2 separate regions of the Homo sapiens genome follow, and region 2 is linked to region 1. Evidence: promoter capture Hi-C in human tissues and cell types (Jung and others, 2019). All regions are on one chromosome and are shown on one strand. Each heading gives the region's core, a stretch centred on a gene start or on the middle of the fragment in contact. The rest is flanking DNA. Distances are from core to core; before and after follow the strand shown. Region 1 holds the start of ANO7 (anoctamin 7). Region 2 overlaps SEPTIN2 (septin 2).

Region 1 (2,872 bases), core at 238-2,737:
CGTGGGCTGTGCTCCCGTAAGAGCCCCTCTTCTCTGCCTCAGGGGGGCTCACATCGATCAGGACGGTGCTGTCCTCTTCCTGGGCCCGTCGCCGCAGCATCCTGCTCCTGCACCCAGCAAGGCCGGGTGGGGATGGGGGTCAGAGAGGGGATGGGTGAGACCCGTTCCTGGGGCCACCACACTGCCTGCAGTGAGCTCACTTTACAGACTCGACTCGGAGTAGAATGGGGCTGGGCTGGCTCGGCAGACTCTCCTGGCCATGAGCACATGGAGAACCCCCTAGCCAGCCACGAGCTCCAGGAAGAAACCAGTGCCGGGGCGGGAGCGTCTGGCAGGCCTGGCACAGCAGGCGTCTGTCTGTCCATCCAGTGAGTGCCCGTGTCCCCCAGCCCTGAATGCCGTCCACTCTGCCTGGGTACTCAGTGGAGCCTGAGAAGGCCCAGAAAGGTGGGCCTGGAGTACAGACACCTCTCCCTCTCTTATCCGTAGGGTGGAGCCATGTGAGCCAGGGACAGGAAACCCCTCAAGTCGCCTGCCTTCGCTCATGGCCTGAGGACCCAGTGCCAGGACCCATAGGCCCTGAGCTCCCCAGCAAGGCGGGCCTGATGGAGCCCGGCCTCACAACTCTTGGGGGTCCCAGCTTCCTCCCGCACCTTCGCCCCGGGGGTCTCTCTCTGTGGGAGGACAGGTGCCGTGGCTCCTAGTCTTGGGCTGGCAAAACGGGGCCAGGAGCACGACATCTGTGGCCCTGGAAGGAGAGGGTTCGAGCTGGGGCTGGCATTTGGAGCTGCGACGATGACCGGAGGGTGTGACCATGGAGGCGCCGCAGGAGGTCGGAGGGGCAGCCTTCTAGTTCTACCCTTCACTTCACATTAGCGGAGGCCCAGAGGGACAGAGACTGAGCCTGGGCCGCCTGCACCTGCCTAACCCTGAAGCCCGAGCCAGGTCTCAGTGTTAGGACTCGGCCCCGGCCCCAGGCTGGGAGCCTCACTACGGACTGTGGGGTGTTCCTGGAGGAAAGTCCCCGAGGAGTTTCGGCCACCCAGCAGCCCCTCATGCCCCCATCCTTCTGTGGTGGGCAGGCGGGCCCCTCCTCAGAGCTCTCTGCAGAAAGAATGGGGATGCCCCCCACCCCAACGAAGGGACCTGCTCCATGGGGGAGCCCCTGGGCAGGCAGGAAGCCAACCCCAGCTGGGTGTACCCCGTCCAGAGCCGCACTGAGTGTGTGTCCCTCCTCGTGCCCCAAGGGGCTTTGGGGACCAGGGCGGGCCCTGGCACTGCCTCCCCACAGGCCAGGGTGTGTGAAAGTCCCGGTGGGCTGGGGTGCCGCCCTGCCTCCCTAGAGTCCAACGCTCCACCTTCTCCCTGTGGCCCACACGTCTAGGCTGGGTCCCCACCTGGCACAGTGGCTTCCGGAAGAGGTCTCGGAGGTCATGGCCCACCTCTCAGCGTGAGCCTGGTCTCGGCAGTAGAGTCCCGTCCTCACTGCGGGACAGAGGGTGGGGAGGGGTGGCCCTTGGAGCCCCGCCCAGGCAGTGGCAGCCATTCGCATGCCCTCACCTTGCCTGCAAGTGGGCCAGGAAGCAGGCAGGGGAGGTGCCCAGCACAGCTGGCCAGGGCAAGGCTTCCCGGCTCCTGGAGCAGGATCTATCTTTGTTTAAATAGGGGGTGTGGGGCTCAGAGCTGCAGACAGAGGCAGCCCACTTGGCTGGGCTTTCACACACCCGCATGCAAATGCTGCCGTCCTCCTGGGAACCTTATTTGCTTAGAGATTTCAGGGCTGGCATCAGCTGTCATAGTTGCTGCCTTGGAGGGTCTCGAGGAGGTGGGATTCCACAGGAACAGCCACAAGTGCCACCTCTGCTGGAAGCCTTGCCAGGCAGACCTCGTAAGCTCTGTTTATGTGGGGGGAAACTGAGGCTCCTTGAGGTTACGTAGCATGTGCTGAGTGGTGGGCCAGGGTTTCACCCGGGGGCTGGGGAGATTGGGAGACCCAGATCACACTGCTGGCTCTGCTAATGCCTGAGGGGTGACCTCAGGCACATCCCATGCTCAGGGCCCCATCTGCAAAAGGACAGGAGGGGTCCTAGCCTTCCTCCCATCCTTTCCGCCCTCCTCCTCGTCCTCATTCTCCTCCTAGCCCTCCTCTTTCTCCTCCTAGCCCTCCTCCCCCTCCTCCTTTCTCCCCCTCCTCCTATCCTTTCTCCCCACCTTCCCTCTCCTCCTTCTCCTCCTATTGTTTCTCCCCCCTACTCCTCCCTCTCCTTCTCCTCCTATCCGTTCTCCCCTCTCCCTCTCCTCCTATCATTTCTCCCCCCAACTCCTCCTCCTCCTCCTCTTTCTCCCCACTCCCCCTCCTCCTATCGTTTCTCCCCCTCCCCCCCACTTCTCCCTCTCCTCTTCCTTCTCCTCCTTTCTCCCCACTCCCCTCCTCCTGTTTCTCCCCCTCCCCCCACTTCTCCCTCTCCTCCTCCTTCTCCTCCTATCCTTTCTCCCCGCCCCTCCTCTTCCCCTCTCCCTCCCCCTCCCCCTTTCCTCCTTGGTGCCTGGCAGTGTCTGAGAACCTACCACCCGTGCTCCTCGCCCTCCATGCACAACTGCACTGGGGAGCCCCAAGCTCAGCTTGCTGTTCCAGGTGCCCCCTTCTGCCTGTTGAAATCCCTCCAGGCGGACCCTCATCCTGGCTGCAGCTTTCCCTTATACCTATGCCCCTCTGTGCTTGGCACCTCCCAAGGGGCCCTGTTCTTGGACCTGTGTTGTGCCTCGGAACAGCGGGAAGGCCCTGCAGGCCGGGTTCCCTGTCAGCACCAGCAGAGCCTGGGCGGCAGGACCTTGGGGCCCTGGGCCTCAGGGCATCTGCATGAGAGGTCTC
Region 2 (2,872 bases), core at 185-2,684, 140 kb before region 1:
GGGGGCCATTTTGGAGCCTAGCTGACACAATGAGTAAACTTTCACTACATATAAATAAGAAAGTGACAGAAAAATAATTTTGCTCCTGAGAAAAATTTTCTAATGAATACACATATATTTGTTCAAATTCTCAAGTTATTTGACTCTGCCAAATTTTCCTCTTTCTTTATAGGTCACGTTATCATACTCCAGAGATTGGAAAGGGGAGATATTTATTTAGTAAGTTGGAGACTATAGATTAATTTCTTACCGACCACCATCAGTGTGAACTCAAAACCTTTTTTCACTGATTTTCGGTGAACTTGATTGGGGAGGTTTGCAAATCCAACATAGCCAGGTGTTTCTGGATTTATAAACTGAGTTGGCTGTTGCTAAATAAGATTAAAAAACAAACAAACTAATAAACACCTTAGTAGTTGCTTTTAAGATATAATCAGTTAGACATGAAACAAACATAGGTTATCAGTTTTCACAAATTTTTTAAAAAGTATAAACACTTCCAGAAGGTCATACTTCTATCAGAAAACCAGTAGTATTCAACTAGGAGCATTAAAAAAAGAAAAACTTATCTAGTATAACTCCTTAGTTGTATGCGACTGAAAATTAACATTTTGTTAATCAGTATTCTGTTTAGGAATTTAACAATACATAGAAGATACATGCTTAATACATCTTAATGCAATTTCAAATTTCGACTTGAGAGACTATGGAGTTCCAGGAAAATCAGTCAAGCTTACAAAGTACTGCTACAGCTGACAGTACTTTGAATGAATGGTTTCATTCAACAAACTTGGCTAAAGAATAGCTTCTCCCAGGTATTAGGTGCAATGCATTTCTGAAAAGTATCGAGGAAAAAAGCATCTCTCTTGCTGTGCTTCTAGCTCTATAGAACAGAGTTTCATCAAGGGTGAGGCAGGCAAATTAGGGGTGGGATGTTGAGTATCTAGTGTCAAAGACCAAGAAAGAAAAGACAGAATGAGAAGATCATAGATGACTACACTGAAGCATCAATATTCCTTGACAGAAGGGTATCTGATGAGAGAGAGGACAGAGATATGAGAAGGCAAGAATAGCAGAAGTAACCAGAATCTAGACAGTGGCATACTGAAAATGAGAAGAAATTTTAAAAATCAATTTATTAATTGAAAAAGGCAAGATACAAAATAGTATTTCCTTTAGGATTACATTTTGTAAATGTATAGTCAAATGCACACACAGGTGAAAAAGAATATATGTAACATATTAACAGTGGTTATTCCTGAGTGGTGAAATAATGACTTTTTTTTTTGCTTATCTGTGTTCCATGCTAACACTGGTATAAAATGCAAAAACTGGTATGATGATTTTGCATTGGACAGTAATGAACACCCACAGGATTCAAAGATAAAAAAAAAACAGAAATAATAATCTTGCAATGTTAACCACAAGTTCTGCTTTTCTCAGAATATGTTCTTTAGCACTAATTTATCTCTGAACTAACTTGCAAAGGCTGATTTAAACCAATTTATCAAGTCTAAGAGCCCCATCAATTTCATCATAATAAATTATCAGAATTCTAAATTATCTGGTCTGCTGGGAATGAACTAAGGGGGCCAAAAGGACTGTTACTGATGTGTGTAGAGAAAAGAAAGTAGAAGCCTGAAAAAAGAGAAAGCTCCAAGCTTTTAAGATGACAATTAGGCCAGGCACGGTGGCTCACACCTGTAATCCCAACACTTCGGGGGGCCAAAGCGGGTGGATCACGAGGTCAACAGATCAAGGCCATCCTGGCCAACACGGTGAAACCCCGAATTTACTAAAATCCAAAAAATTAGCCAGCGTGGTGGCACGTGTCTGCAGTCCCAGCTACTCCGGAGGCTGAGCCAGGGGAATCGCTTGAACGTGGGAGGCAGAAGTTGCAGTGAGCTGAGATCATGCCACTGCACTCCAGCCTGGTGACAGAACAAGACTCCCGTCTCAAAAAAAAAAAAAAAAAGACAACTAAATTAGAACTCTTTGTGTTAATGAATCAAATGTATCAGTTGTATTAAAAATAATGAATCATATAAGTCCCGACTGTCAACAGTCTGAAAACATAAAGCAATTTCTCCTTATGCTGTAGATACATGAAGTATGATCTTACCTTAGACATCTTTTGTGAAGCTTCGTCTGTTAAAAAAAAAACACACAGACACACATAAACGCACATACATAGTATGTATGTATACGCACGTATATTTAACAGCGTGAACTGACCTGAAGAAGACTTACACATACATAGGCAATGTAAAAAGAAAATACAATTTCAGGACCTTCCAAATGCATTAGGCCAAAGGGAAAAGTTAAGCACTGACAGCTGGCTCGTGTAACATCACTACTTTTATTCTTTCTGACTTTTGTGTTTAGATGTATATATTAACCAGACCCCCTATTCTTTATTCAAAACTAGACTAAATGACTGGGAGATGAGAGATCCTTATGACTGTTACTTCTTTACAAAAGGAAGTTAAACAAATCCCTTCAAGTGTAATCAATAGTAGCCAATCAAATTTGTATCTTTAAATGAGCCTTAGTTCCGAAAATGTTATAATTCTGTTTGGCACCTCCATTTTGCCTATATAAACAATCCTCATTTTTCCCCACCCTGGGAGCGCTAATCACCATTCTTTGGTGTAGCTCGCTTACACTCTGTACTTAAATGAATTCTTTTAACTGAATCAGGAGCCTTTTGATTATTTTAGGTGACAGCATCTCAATTACTTCAAATATTTCCCTAGGAATAAGACAAGCATCTATCATTACAAAAATAAATTCGATTAAAAAAATTAGGCCAGACGTGATGCTCACGCCTGTAATTCCAGCACTTTGGGAGGCCGAGGTAGGCAGACCACTT

What was found. Contacts are between HindIII fragments. The study calls those that stand out against the background at their distance.
Region 2: a contact is called between a fragment that was not itself captured here and the fragment with the promoter of ANO7 in region 1, in 2 of the 25 tissues and cell types used here (bladder and pancreas).

What each region holds. Positions count from the first base shown.
Region 1 is chr2:241,187,292-241,190,163 of GRCh38, reverse strand. It overlaps ANO7 (anoctamin 7), which reads right to left and starts at 1,487. Exons shown (of 25, transcript NM_001370694.2): 1 at 1,398-1,487; 2 at 1-107. The coding sequence starts at 100. LOC105373971 (a long non-coding RNA gene) reads left to right here and starts at 1,742. Exons shown (of 3, transcript XR_924064.3): 1 at 1,742-1,888. RefSeq lists enhancers at 849-1,532, 1,533-2,217. The HindIII fragment of the contact is 24,444 bases long and covers 1-2,872 here.
Region 2 is chr2:241,323,492-241,326,363 of GRCh38, reverse strand. SEPTIN2 (septin 2) reads right to left here. Exons shown (of 13, transcript NM_004404.5): 2 at 2,123-2,148; 3 at 251-371. The coding sequence starts at 2,131. Among named protein-coding and RNA genes, the nearest start is that of SEPTIN2, 9.0 kb to the right of the region's middle. The HindIII fragment of the contact is 3,359 bases long and covers 1-2,872 here.